5 separate regions of the Homo sapiens genome follow, and regions 1, 2, 3 and 4 are each linked to region 5. The links are contacts of gene promoters, found by promoter capture Hi-C in human tissues and cell types (Jung and others, 2019). All regions are on one chromosome and are shown on one strand. Each heading gives the region's core, a stretch centred on a gene start or on the middle of the fragment in contact. The rest is flanking DNA. Distances are from core to core; before and after follow the strand shown.

Evidence for each region. The method cuts DNA at HindIII sites, captures the fragments that hold promoters and counts their contacts. A contact is called where the count stands out against the background at its distance.
Region 1: the fragment with the promoter of PRR22 here is called in contact with the fragment with the promoter of KHSRP in region 5 in 1 of the 25 tissues and cell types used here (dorsolateral prefrontal cortex).
Region 2: a contact is called between the fragment with the promoter of MBD3L3 here and the fragment with the promoter of KHSRP in region 5, in 1 of the 25 tissues and cell types used here (mesendoderm cells).
Region 3: the fragment with the promoter of FUT6 here is called in contact with the fragment with the promoter of KHSRP in region 5 in 1 of the 25 tissues and cell types used here (neural progenitor cells).
Region 4: a contact is called between a fragment that was not itself captured here and the fragment with the promoter of KHSRP in region 5, in 1 of the 25 tissues and cell types used here (spleen).

The regions. Positions count from the first base shown.
Region 1 is chr19:5,783,453-5,786,152 of GRCh38, reverse strand. PRR22 (proline rich 22) reads left to right here and starts at 1,407. Exons shown (of 3, transcript NM_001134316.2): 1 at 1,407-1,622; 2 at 1,714-1,776; 3 at 2,100-2,700. The coding sequence starts at 1,493. DUS3L (dihydrouridine synthase 3 like) reads left to right here. Exons shown (of 13, transcript NM_020175.3): 11 at 362-550; 12 at 642-770; 13 at 878-1,013. The coding sequence ends at 950. The HindIII fragment of the contact is 36,623 bases long and covers 1-2,700 here.
Region 2 is chr19:7,057,289-7,059,988 of GRCh38, reverse strand. MBD3L3 (methyl-CpG binding domain protein 3 like 3) reads left to right here and starts at 1,313. Exons shown (of 2, transcript NM_001164425.4): 1 at 1,313-1,428. The coding sequence starts at 1,384. The HindIII fragment of the contact is 21,543 bases long and covers 1-2,700 here.
Region 3 is chr19:5,838,279-5,840,978 of GRCh38, reverse strand. FUT6 (fucosyltransferase 6) reads left to right here and starts at 1,277. Exons shown (of 3, transcript NM_000150.4): 1 at 1,277-2,302. The HindIII fragment of the contact is 16,612 bases long and covers 1-2,700 here.
Region 4 is chr19:7,179,142-7,181,841 of GRCh38, reverse strand. All of the region lies in intron 3 of INSR (insulin receptor), which reads left to right. Among named protein-coding and RNA genes, the nearest start is that of ZNF557, 110 kb to the right of the region's middle. RefSeq lists an enhancer at 2,548-2,647. The HindIII fragment of the contact is 3,478 bases long and covers 1-2,700 here.
Region 5 is chr19:6,423,364-6,426,063 of GRCh38, reverse strand. It overlaps KHSRP (KH-type splicing regulatory protein), which reads left to right and starts at 1,253. Exons shown (of 19, transcript NM_001366299.1): 1 at 1,253-1,611. The coding sequence starts at 1,363. SLC25A41 (solute carrier family 25 member 41) reads left to right here. Exons shown (of 7, transcript NM_173637.4): 7 at 1-27. RefSeq lists an enhancer at 826-945. The HindIII fragment of the contact is 26,210 bases long and covers 1-2,700 here.

The sequences.
Region 1 (2,700 bases), core at 158-2,657, 640 kb after region 5:
ACATGGTGAAACATCTCTATTAAAAATACAAAAATTAGCCAGGTGTAGTGGTACACGCCTGTAATCCCAACTACTAGGGAGGCTGAGGCAGGACAATTGCCTGAACCTGGGAGACGGAGGTTGAACAGTGAGCCGAGATCTTACCACTGCACCCCAGCCTGGGCGACAGAGCCAGACTCCGTCTCAGAAAAAACAAAAGAAAGTCCTGTGCTTTGAAGGTTGTGTGCATGCAGCTGGGAGGCTTACTAGGCTTGTAGGTTTTGTGGTCTGGGCTCCGGCTCAGGCCAGGCCATGGAAGCAGAGGCCACACGATCCCAGGCAGGCTGGTGGCTGGGCCCACTGATCGTCACCCGTCCCACAGTGGCGCCCTGCTCAAGCCGTGGCTCTTCACGGAGATCAAGGAGCAGCGGCACTGGGACATCTCGTCGTCCGAGCGCCTGGACATCCTGCGGGACTTCACCAACTACGGCCTGGAGCACTGGGGCTCGGACACGCAGGGCGTGGAGAAGACCCGGCGCTTTCTGCTCGAGTGGCTGTCCTTCCTGTGCCGGTGGGCACCGGGGCTGGCTGGGGTGGGCGGCGCGTGGGCCGCGGCTGGTTAGAGCTGACTCAAGCCTGTCCTGCCCGCCCACCCGCCGCAGGTACGTGCCCGTGGGGCTGCTGGAGCGGCTCCCACAGAGGATCAACGAGCGGCCGCCCTACTACCTGGGCCGCGACTACCTGGAGACGCTGATGGCCAGCCAGAAGGCAGCCGACTGGATCCGCATCAGGTGCCTGGGTGGGCTGGAGTTGGGGAGCTGCAGTCGGGGGCCCGGGGTCACGGAGGGTACTTTGCAGGTCCTGGGCCTGACCTCGCTTTCCACCTGCTCTCCCACAGCGAGATGCTCCTTGGGCCAGTGCCCCCCAGCTTCGCCTTCTTGCCGAAGCACAAGGCCAACGCGTACAAGTAGCCTCAGGCTTTCCCAGGGGCACCCTGGGGCGAGGAGAGTACAATAAATTTTATTCTTTTAAAATCCAGGCCTTTCTGTGACCCTGAAGCAGCCCCTCCTCGGCCCCCACCTTCCCCAAACCTCTTAGCTGCCTCCATGGGCCCTGCCCCAAGCTGGGTGCTGCTGGTGCCCAGAGAGGCCTTGACCCCCAAGAAGGTAGCGGGTTGAGGACCCGGGGGGCCTCAGCCTGTGTGGGTGTGGATCAGGGCAGCCTGCCTGGAGGAGGCGGCCTCAAAGCTGTTAGGGGGGTGTTGCTGGAAGAGGCAAAGGCCTGGCCCAGAATCCTCCCTCCCATGGTGATGACCATGTCTGCCAACGTCTGCCCCTGCTTGCCCCCAACACCCAGAACCCCAACCAGTGGGCGCGCTGCAGGCTGGAACCCGCTGCCCCGAGTAACCAGGCAAACAGAACCCCACCAGGTTCTCAGCCTGTTCTCCGGTTGGGCCACTTGCACTCCCACTGCCGCCCTCCTGGCCTGTCTGGACCGGGCCCCCCGCTGCCCCATGCAGCACCCCAAACCGTTCTGTGCCCCTGCAGCTCCCCAGGAAGGTTTCAGCCCGCAGAGTCTGGAGGGGGCTGAGGTGCTGGGCAACCAGCCTGCTCCCACCTGTGCCGAGCCTCCTCCCGCTATGGGTACGATCGGGTGGGTGGGAGCACCTGCTGGAGAGGGTTCAGGGGCCCACCCGCCTAAGGGCCCTACCCACCTGGGCACCTTTGTCCACAGGCTCCTTGAACCTGTATCATCCCCCAGACCCAGAGAAAGAGGTGTTTCCAGCCCCACCAGCAGGTACCGGCCTCCCCTGAGCCCTTGACGAGGCTGGGAGTGGGTTTGAGTGTGCAGGCCCATCTTGCCCCTGCCCCGTCCCTAAGTGGGAGCCTGAAGGCATGGCCTCTGCTCCCCATGCTTCACACAGGTCCCCCAGATGAGCCCCAAAGACAAGCTCTGTGTCATCCATCACCCAGCCAGGGCCCCAAAGCAATATCTATGTCGTCCCCCAAAGGGGCCCCCCAATGGCAAGGTTCTTGTGGCATCTCCCAAACAGGCCCCCAGGCTTGGGCTGGGCCCCTCAGGCAGCAGCTGCTCTCAGGGCACCCGCCTGCCGCCCACAGGTTTCCAGATGGCCCCATGCGGGTGCTTCTTCGACCCCCGCATCTATCGGATCGAGTGGACCACCCCCGACCTGGGCCAGTCAGCCCTGTATAAGCTGGCAGCAAGCAGCGGGGGGCCAGCGGGGGTCCCCTCCGCCCCAGGCAGCTACCTCCTGGAGCCTCAGCCCTACCTCAAGGCCCCGGGGCTGCCTCCATACCCCCACTACCAGCAGGCACCCGGGGGGCCCCAGTTTCTCTTGCCCTACTTCCCGCCTGAGGGCCCCGGGCCAGAGGCTCTGGGTTTTGTGGGGGACGCAGGGCCCGCCGCCTTCGTGGAGCTGCCCCTACCGCCCCTAGAGGAAGGCCCGGCCCCGCTGCCACCCCCACCCCCCAAGGAGAACAAGCCGCCCCCTGTACTCATCACGCTGCCTGCAGAGCCCACACTGCCCCCAGACGCCTACAGCCACCTCCAGGGTCACCTCGGCCACTTCCCTGGGCCCGAACCCCTGGCCTTCCCCGTCAAGGAGCTGCAGGGCAGTGGGGCCCGACCTGGGGTGCCCCTGTACCCACCGGGCCTCAGCGAGCTCAAGGTGGCCGAGGTCAAGGAGGGGGCCCTGCTGGG
Region 2 (2,700 bases), core at 64-2,563, 630 kb before region 5:
AATAAAAGTGTAAAGGAAAACAATTAGTTGTTAGCAGCATTGAATTAGAAGAAAAATACTAGAATGAATTCTCAAGTCCACAGGGAAATAATCCCAGATTGAATGCTAGAAATGCAGAAAGGAACAAAGATGAATGCACAAGATAAGCTGTAGGTAAATATTAGTGCATATTGCTTTATGAAGCAATACTAGAAATGTCTCCTGGAGAGTAAAATATGTGTAGAATTAATATGCATGAGAATGGTAATACAAAAGTCAGAAACAGCTAAAAAGAGAATTAAAAGTGTTCTAAAGTATTAGCATTTTGTGGGAGGGGTTAAAGTAATTAATTGTATCAGAGTATATGATTTAATTATTAGCATAACTACACAGATTTGTATGGCTGTAACTAGCAAGTTCATGGAGATAACAATAAAATAATAAACATATTTAATTCAAAGTCAGTCAAGTAAAGGCAAAAGGAACGTGAGTCAGTTAAGTCAAAACCTAGGAAAAATGAGATGATTGAAACAATTTCAAATTTACTGGTAATTATATTAAATGTAAATGCACGAAATAGAACTTTTTTTTTTTTTTTTTTTTGAGATGGAGTCTCACTCTGTCGCCCATGCTGAGCTGCAGTGGTGCGATCTCGGCTCACCGCAACCTCTCCCTCCCAGGTTCAAGCGATTCTCCTGCCTCAGCCTCCCGAGTAGCTGGGATTACAGGTGCATGCCACCACACCAGGGTAAGTTTTGTATTTTTAGTAGAAATGGGGTTTCACCATGTTGGCCAGGCTGGTCTCGAACTCTTGACCTCAGGTGATCTACCTGCCTTGGTCTCCCAAAGTGCTGGGATTATAGGCGTAAGCCACCTCTCCCGGCCAAAGTAGTAATTTCTTTGCAACAACTGTGTGATATATTCTATAGGATTGTGAATAAAAGTTTTGGGCTTTCTTTTCTTAAAGAACATTTAAATGGTCTTTAGTTGTTGTTATTAAATCAAATATTACGTGAACATTTATGTACATAGACAATTCCATTCCTATTTCTATAGAAAGTATTCAAAGATGTTTGGAAAACTGGGAGAAAAAGGGAAACATATCTAAAATGCTGATATTAACTGTAAATACCACCCCGCCACACACACATACACACGTATTCAATTCTTTCTCTACTAACACTCTGTGTAGGTAACACCACATTGGTTTCTGTATAAAGATTTAGAAATGCCTCAAATCCAATGGGCGGAGACAGGGTGTTCCCTGTGGATTATCCACTGATTGCATTATCACTCGCTTTCTCTATAAAAAGGGGAACCAGATGCAGAAGTCACTGCATTTTCCGGCAAGCCAAGGGTTGTCTGCATCTCAAGAGTGGGGTCAGCAAGAGAAACTCTACGGCTATGGGAGAGCCTGCGTTCACCTCTTTTCCGAGCCCACCTGTTCTGGTGAGTACGGGATATTTATTGATTACAGGAATGTCCATATGTGTCCTTTTTCCTTCTGTAAGACAGCTTTACAGTTAGCAGTGGGTTGTTCTTAAAACTGGATGTTGTGGAAAGTTATACCTCAGGTGGTAATATCTGTTGAATAATGTTCAAAGTATTCTCATTTTTGCCCATGAAACTGTATGGGGATAATAGCTTTGAATTTTTTTTTAAAAATCCAACATCACTAGGAAAGGGAAGAAGTATGATTTGGCCTTGCAGTCTTCAAATTGTCTCCTTCTCTGGAAAGCTCCTGAACCAGAAATTGCTTGGTCCGTTTTTTTAAAAAAACAAAAAACAAAAAAAATTAGTTCTCTGGTAAAATTTCATGATGAGTTGCTTATTCCCTAAACTCACTGTCACGATTCATTGTAGTGAATTTCTTTTCTGTTTCTCTGTTTCTCCTCCTTCCATCCCTCTCTGTCACTCCCTTCTTCTTCATCATGGAACTTACTTATATCTGATATTCCACCAGAAATTTGTTTTTAGTGCGTTTATTATGTCTTCCTTCTCACCAAGATGAAAATCAACAGAGTGGTGATTTATGAAGTTTACTTCTGGATCAGGGGTTCTACTGCACAGCTTGGCACATCATAAGTGCCCCGTAACTAAGGGGACTAAATAATTTTCCCTCCAAAGGGGAACATCTTGGGTCAGTATTAATCTTTATGCCAGGGGTACTGTAAGGGGTAGTATTAATCTTTATGCCAGGACAACGAAAAATGAAATGAGGAGGACAGAAACAAAGGCTTTAAAATGGAAAGTGCACTGATGAGGTTTGTGGGGGAAACAGCTTTATGAGACTAGAGTCTTCCAATTGAGTTAGAGCAAGAAAGGACGTCAAATCTTAGGAGGCGCTTGATCATCTTTCTCAGTATGTCATCAAAAGATTCTCTCATGGTATACCTCTAGTTAATTGAGCTTATTAGAAACAGAAAGCAACATGGTGTTTCTGAGGTTTTTCTTCATGAGCAGGAGGTGTTCAGGTGAAGGTGGGATCTGGGTGTGGCAGTGAGTATTTAAGGTGGCGAGTGCAGGATTTCTTTGGAAACCAGAGAGTCAAGGAGCTATGAAAATGACGTTGTGTCCTGAAGCACAGCAGAAAGAGATACAGAGAAGCGTGAGGTCTTGGTGAACAGGGAAGTCTGGGATCCCGGTGTCCTGTTGGGGATGGGTTAGGAGGCACCACCAGCATCTGTGTAGCTGACAGTGGCAGGGAAGAGAAGAGAGGGG
Region 3 (2,700 bases), core at 28-2,527, 590 kb after region 5:
CTAACATGTCTCTACTAAAAATACAAAAAAAAAAAAAAAAATTAGCTGGGCGTGATGGCGGACGCCTGTAGTCCCAGCTACTTGGGGCAGGAGAATGGCGTGAACCCAGGAGGCAGAGCTTGCCATGAGCCGAGATCGTGCCACTGCACTCCAGCCTGGGCCACAGAGCGAGACTCTGTCTCAAAAAAAAAAAAGAAAAAAAACCCAGCTGGGCGGAGTGGCTCATGCCTGGCCTCTAATCCCAGTACTTTAGGAGGCTGAGGCAGACAGATCACCTGAAGTCAGGAGGTCAAGATCAGCCTGGCTAACATGGCGAAAACCAGCTCTATTAAAAAAATACGAAAGTTACCCAGTGCCGTGTCACGCGCCTGTAGTCCCAGCTACTCGGGAGGCTGGGGCATGAGAATCGCTTGAGCCCGGGAGGCATAGGTTACAGTAAACTGAGACTGTGCCACTGCACTCCAGCCCGAGTGACAGAGCAAGATTCCATCTCAAAAAAAAGAGAGAGATAGGGGTATCTCTGTTTTCCCTAGGCTGGTCTCAGACTCCTGGGCTCAAGCGATCTTCCTGCCTCTCCTTCCCAAACTGTTGGGATTACAGGTGTGAGTCACTGTGCATGGCCTCAGAAGTCTTTTTTTTTTTTTTTTTTTTTTTTGAGACAGAGTCTTGCACTGTCGCCCAGGCTGGAGTGCAGTGGCTCAATCTAGGCTCACTGCAAGCTCCGCCTCCCGGGTTCACACCATTCTCCTGCCTCAGCCTCCCAAGTAGCTGGGACTACAGGCACCCACTACCACGCCTGGCTAATTTTTTTGTATTTTTAGTAGAGACAGGGTTTCACCATGTTAGTCAGGATGGATGGTCTTGATCTTCTGATCTCGTGATCTGCCCACCTCGGCCTCCCAAAGTGTTGGGATTACAGGCGTGAGCCACCACGCCCGGCCCCCAGAAGTCATTTTTTTAATAAGTTACAGTCAACCTCACCAGTCAAGGAATGAGACATGAGTGGAATTAGGTTGCCACTTCTGGAGCTCTGGGAGACCCCAACCCCCTGGCCCATCCCTACCTCCCAGAACCTCACTGGTCTGGGCGTGGCTGGGCACTGAGATAGTAGAACTCAGGCAGCATGATGCAGCCTCCCAGAAATGATTTCTAGAACAGGGCAGTCGTGATACTTGGAGGCTGGGCTTTGAGCTCGGTCACCTTTGCACCCAGCTTGGGAGTGAGAGAGTTTAAGGTCATCCTCCCTCAAAACCAGTATTCCAGATCATTTCTCTCCATTCCAGGAAGTTTGCATAGCTCCCTGGACTTCTGCTTTGCACTGCCCTGCAGGAGTGGGTGGGGAAAGGAAGTGGCTTTGAGGCACACAGAGGGGCTTGTTGAGGCCACCGGAGGAAGCTTCTGCCACCAATATGGGACCTGTGCCCAGCCTACCAGAAGAGAGCATCTGAAAACATGTATCGACATGGTAACCCCTCTGCTTGAAGCCTCACATGGCTCCCTATTGCCTTGGTGCTGAACACCCTATGGCTGACCGTGGCCCAGCCTCTGCAACAGCTCTGCCTCCTCTCCAGTGGTGAAGACCCAGCCTGCTGAGACTCCTCCTGCAGTTCCTCAACATGCCTGCATTTCTGCTGCCTCAGGGCCTTTGCGAAGGTTGTTCCTTGTAACTGGAATGCCCTTCCATCCCTTTTTTATTCAAAAGGCTGCAATTTTAATTGAAGAAAGTTCCCTTCCAAGGTTCATGAGTTGCCTGACTTGCCCACCGGTTTCCTGCAAGATCCCTTGGCCTGGCACTTAGTGCTCAGGAAATATTTGGTGATGGGCCAACTGAGTGAGAAGGTGGGATCTGGTGGGAAGGAAAGCGGAAAGGTAGAAATTCTGCTCACTTCCTCATTCCCACCTCCCAAGGAACCCCTGGTGTCCCTGTGGAACCCGCTTTGGGAACCGGTGGTTCAGGTCAGCCTTTTCACTTTGTACTCAAAGCCACATCGCATTGAAGCCACAGGTGGGGCAAGGTCATGCATGACCTGAGTCTCCAAATCCCTTCACCCTGTTTGGTTCTGCAACGGGGATTAGGGGAGCCCCACGATTTGTTTTCAAAGGATGTCCGGGCTCCAGGACAGGATGCCCTGGGTCACCTGATGACAGGTGTGGTGGTTGGAAAGGGCCTGGTTTCAGCTCCGGGTACACTTCCTCCTTCCTTCTGCTGCGTGGTGTGGCCTCTTCCACGTCCTCAGAATCCAGCTGTTACTCCGTCCGCGGCCTCTCAGCTCTAGGGCCCTCTGCACACTGGCCCCCCCAGGTAAGGCCTCTTGTCCCACTTTCACCCCCAACCCGGATCGCATGGGTCCAGGGAAAGGCCTCCTGGCTCCGAGCCTCCTCCCCTCAGCCTCAGTCCTGTCTGCTGTAATTCAGAGTGCGGGTGGGCTGGCACAAGATCCCTGGGGGAGGGTCTGCAGGCTGTGCAGTGGCCTGGCATTTGGCCAGCAGCCCCTAGTCGCAGGCAGGGGTCTTTCTGGATGCACCGAGGTGGGCTGAGGATATGGGAGGTCTGGCTGATTTGCCAAACCAGGAGGAAGTGGGTGTCTGTCTGTCTCTCTTGCAGAGCTCTGCGGTAGAATCCCGTGCCCCCCGACCCCATCAGCAGCCTACACCCCTTCATCCTTCCTGGCCCCGGATTTTCTCTGCCTCTGCCACTCC
Region 4 (2,700 bases), core at 40-2,539, 760 kb before region 5:
TGGGAGGCCGAAGTGGACGGATCATCTGAGGGCAGGAGTTCAAGGTCAGCCTGGCCACCACGGTGAAACCCCGTCTTTACTAAAAATACAAAAACAAAAAAAAAATTAGCTGGGCATGGTGATGCATACCTGTTATCCCAGCTACTCGGGAGGCTGAGGCATGAGAATTGCTTGAACCCAGGAGGCAGAGGTTGCAGTGAGCTGAGATCACGCCATTGCACGTTAGCCCCCAGGCAAGTGTGACAAGAGTGAAACTGCATCTCCAAAAAAAAAAAAAAAAAGGTCTCACCATCTACTGTCGTTCCAAAGTACCTGCTGGGATGTAATAGCACAGTGCTGCTTCCTGAGATGAGAAGGACCAGATATTTGTGATGAATAAATTTTCAATGCGTATGGGGTATCCACTGGGAAGGGGAGAATTACCTAAAATCCTTGATTCTTCTTGGCCTCTCTCACTTCTTCCTATTAAGCTGAGGTCTCAAATTTGTCTACACCTCCATCTATTTCACCATCATGTCTGGTCTGACCCAGTCCCCTTGAACAATCTCTTTGCTCCTGCTTCCATTCTAGTGACACTGGTAAAAAGTGGCCACCTGGGCCAGGCGCGGTGGCTCACGCCTATAACCCCAGCACTTTGGGAGGCCGAGGTGGGTGGATCACCTGAGGTCAGGAGTTCGAGACCAGCCTGACCAACATGGTGAAACCCCATCTCTACTAAAAATACAAAAATTAGCCAGGCGTGGGATTACAGTGGGCGCCTGTAATCCCAGCTACTCGGGAGGCTGAGACAGCAGAATTGCTTGAACCCGGGAGGTGGAGGTCGCAGTGAGCCGAGAGTGTGCCACTGCACTGCAGTCTCGGTGACAGAGTGAGACTCTGTCTCAAAAGAAAAAATAAAAGTGGTCATCTGATCATATGCCATGTCCTTCCCTAAAACCCTCCGGTGGCTTCCCAAGACCAATGGACAGAATCCAAACTCCTCATCGGGAGGGCTCGGCCAGTTCTCATTCTCATTTCATTCCGGTGCCCCCTGGCCGTGGTGGTCGTTACCGCAGGAGCTTTTCCTGCAACTTGCTACATCCGCTTTCCTCTGTGCCTTTCAATTAGCTGTTCCCTCTTCCTATAATGCTTGTCCCTGCATTTGAGAATGATCCACTTTTTCCCCTCGTCATCTAGATGGCAGCTTAAAAGTCACCTCCTTGGCAAATCCTTCCCGTCTGAGTCAATCATCCGTGCACTCTCTGTCACATCATTTAGTTTTAACTCTTCGATTTGTCACTAGCTGATATTTTTGTCTTTTTTTTTTTTTTTTGAGACAAGGTCTTGGTCTGTCACCCAGGCTAGAGTGCAGTGGCACCCACATGGCTCACTGTGGTCTCAACCCCCTGGGCTCAAGAGATCCTCCTGCCACAGCCTCCTGAGTAGCTGGGACTATATAGGCACACACCACCACACCTGGCTAAAAAAAAATTCTGTAGTGTTGGGGGTCTTGCTATATTCCCCAGGCTCGTCTTGAACTCCTGGGTTTAAGTGATCCTCCCACCTTGGCTTCCCAAAGTGCTGAGATTACAGGGCCTGAGCCACTGTACCTAGCCTTTGTTGTCAATTTATTCACTCTCCCCAACCAGATGATAAGCTTTGTGAGTGTATCAGCTAGCTCTTGTTGCGTAACAAAACCACCTCAGTGCTTAGTGGCTTAAAACACTCCTTTAGGAGCTCTGATGATTTCATGTGTTGACTGAAGGTTTGTCTGGCCTGGGCCTGTTTAGCTACGGCTGATGGTTTAGGGGAGCCTCTTGTGTCTTTGATGGTCAGTGGGGGTCTCTCTCCATAAGTCTCTTACCCCAGCAGCCAGGAAGGGCAGACCTCAATGTTCAAGTGCTTTTCAAGCCTCAGCTTGTATCACGTTTGCAAATATTCCATTGGCCAAAGCAAGCCATATGGCCAAGCCCAGATTCAACAGGTGGGAACATAGACTCCACTTCTTGGTGGGAGAGGCTGCAAAGAACTCATGGTCATTTATAATTTCCCACTGGGAAAGCATATTATCTGCTTTGTTCACTCATGTATACCGGCAGCTGAGAACGGGGGTTGGCCAAGGGCCAGATAGTAAATATTTTCAGCTCTCAGGGCCATATGGTCTCTGTTGGAGCTACTTAACTCTGCCTTTGCAGCGTGAAAGCAGGGTTAGACGATGTACTAACCAATAAATGTGGCCATATTCCAATAGGATATTATTTGCAAAAACAGGTGGCCTACTGGATTTGGCTCCCAGCCCACTGTTTGCCAACTCCAGGCTTAGAGCATTGCCTGCCACATAATAAGAATAGAGGCAATAAAAGAAGTCAAACATTTGGTCAGTATTTTGTTTCTGCCTCAGCTGTTCTGCCACTACCTGGGTGTACTTGCAACACCGTTCTGACACCATCCTCCTCCAAAGTTAGCATCAGACGCCACAAGTTTAAGGCTCAGCCCTCCATGAGATTTCCCTTGCTTCAGACACTGGCAGCATCTTGGGGATCCCCCAGCCACCCACACTTCTGACTAACTGGCTCTAAATTGGGGGATTCCCACAAACTGTTTGGGTTTCATAATTTACTAGAAGGAACTCACAGAATGAAAATAAACCTGGCCAGGTGTGGTGGCTCATGCCTGTAATCCCAGCACTTTGGGAGGCCATGGTGGGAGGCTCACTTGAGC
Region 5 (2,700 bases), core at 4-2,503:
AGGAATAAAGAGATGGTTTTTGCTGAACGTGTCTGGATACTTGGGCCTAGGAGTGGAACTGGGTGCATGAGATCCCTGGACCCAGTAGGGGAGCTGGGGACCTTGGGCCTCTGGGTCCTGAATGGGAATTTGTGTCCAGGAGAGGAAGTGAGGACCTAGGATAGGAGCTTGAGGCTTGGATCCCAGGGCCTTAGGCGAAGGGAGTGAGGGGTGTGAAGTGAGGGGTGTGATCGAGGCTGTGATCCCTCGATCCCGGTTGTTGGAACGGTTCTGGACTCGTGAGTGGGGCTGGTTCCTTGAGTCCTGCAAGAGAACTGGACGCTCTAGATGGGGGGTCGAGAGAGAAGAAGGCCCGGGGGATCCCGAGTTTCCTGCTTTCCGGCCTCCCCACCTCCGGAAGCGCTCGATCTCTAAGGCTTCAAGCGGGCCACGTGCCGGGCCTACCCAACCAGGCTGCCGGTGAGCTAACCCAGACATCAGGCCTGAGTTCGGGCAGCCGATTGCCACCGCCCACGTCGGCTGCCATTCACTACAGTTCCCGCTAATCCCCTCGCTGTCTGGTGGCCGACTCCGCCCCAATGCAGCGGCGCTTCCACTGGCTCCCACCAAAAGTGGGCGCTTTGATTTCCTTCATTCCCATTTGTCCAGACCAGTGTCAGTCACCGAACACCCACCCATGTCGCTCAGCCATTGGCTTAGAAGTCAGGGATAGAAAAGGATTCTGGTTAACAAGGGAAGCAATTAAAGTCCAAAGCCAACCTCATCACCCAGAACTCGTCAGGAATTGGATTAATTGGCTGCCCATCTTTACAAGCACCACCTCTCACGTGCATTCATTGGCTTGTGTCCACGACTATCAAACCTAACGCCCACCCAGCCGGTCCATAGGAGTCTTCCACTAGGCCCGGCCTTACAGTCCACGTGACTCTTCAGAACCGTCAATCTAATTCTGAAGCCGCCCCGCGAATCTGGCACTCGCGTTTCATTGGGCCTCCTGCCTTCTCAGATCTCCTTCATTTGCCCGCCCAGCACGGGCAGCTCGCAGCTATTGCCTCTGAGAGCTGTCAGTCACTCTGAGCCTCCCGCCCACTGCCCCTCATTGCACTCCGATTGGCCACCTCCTACAGAGCTCGCGATTGGTGTCCGGGGTGCGGCGGCTGCCTCCCATTGGCCCGCCGGAGTCGTCCGTCACGTCGGCGGCGGGAGGGGCGACTCTCTCCCCCCTCGTCGTCCTCCCAGCGGCTGGGTTCCCAGAGTGCTCCGCGGCCGTGTGGAGCGAGGCCTTGTTCCCGCGTTGAGCCGCCGCCGCCGCCGCCGCCTCCTCAGCTTCAGCCTCCGCGCCAGGCCCGGCCCCGCCGCGCCATGTCGGACTACAGCACGGGAGGACCCCCGCCCGGGCCGCCGCCGCCCGCCGGCGGGGGCGGGGGAGCCGGAGGCGCCGGGGGAGGCCCTCCGCCGGGCCCGCCAGGCGCGGGGGACCGGGGCGGCGGCGGTCCCGGCGGCGGCGGCCCGGGCGGGGGGTCGGCCGGGGGCCCCTCTCAGCCACCCGGCGGAGGCGGCCCGGGAATCCGCAAGGACGCTTTCGCCGACGCCGTGCAGCGGGCCCGCCAGGTGAGGAGGCCGAGGGCCTGAGGGGCGCGCTCGCGCGCGCGCGCAGGCGGGGGAGGGGGCGGGGGTCACGTGCGCGCGCGCGCGCAGGGTCGCGGAGGGGGGCCGGGGCCGTCGCGGGGTCACGTGGGCGGTAGGCGGGGGCCTGGCCCTCCCGCTGCGCCTCGAGTGGGATCCCAACGGGTGACCCCCCTGCAGGGAGTAGGGGCGCACTGGGGGTCACCAGGAGCGGCGCCTGGGTGTGCAGGCGCCCCGGAGCTCGGAGACGCACTTTTGGGACCCCCCCCTTAGCCCCCCGGCCTTAGGACATGCCTGGAGGCAGGGGTCCACCTTCCCGGGCGGAGGGCCTTTACTCTCCCCTCCATATCAGGGCAAAGGGCAGTGTTTGCCCCCAACCCAGTCCCATTTCTGTCCCCTCTCTAGGAGAAAGGGACATTGTGGGGGTGGGAGGGACAGTCCTTCCTCTTCAGTCGGGAAAGTGGATGGGGACCTGTCTAGGGCTGAGCACTTGGGCGAAATGGGGAAGACGAGCATGGGGACTGGCTCTTGGATGCTTTGGTGGCTTGAAAGCGTGGTCTGTCTCTTTGGGGGAAAGAAGGGAGGGTCTCCCACCCCCGTGTATTGAGGCGTAATGACAAGGAAGTGTCACATGCTGCTAGGACTGACCTCTCCAGCTCCATTTGCAGCCTCCCCATGGCCTGGAGGGGTGGGGGTCGGTAGAATGGGAGGACTTTGCCGCCGACCGGCTCCTGGGCTGTCCCAATGCCTCCGGGGCTAGAGACTGGCTCCTCCCAAGGTGGGAGGTCCCGTTAAGTGAACGCCTGTGTTCTGGCCCTCTGTCGTCTCTCTCACCCTTGGAGTTGGGTGGGTTCTAGCGTGCATTTGGTCTTATTGCCCATGGAACCGTCTGATTCTGGGACAGCTTGAAGGGAGGAAGCTGGTGCTGTCAGTTGGTGGGGACAGGCCCCCTGTGGGCATCCCATGAGTTTTGGCTCTAGGGCAGCGTAGAAAAATGGAGACTGGTGGAAAGGGAGATTCTTAACATGGTTTGGGTTTCTAAACCCCAGACTCTGATCCTAAGTTTGCTGGGTT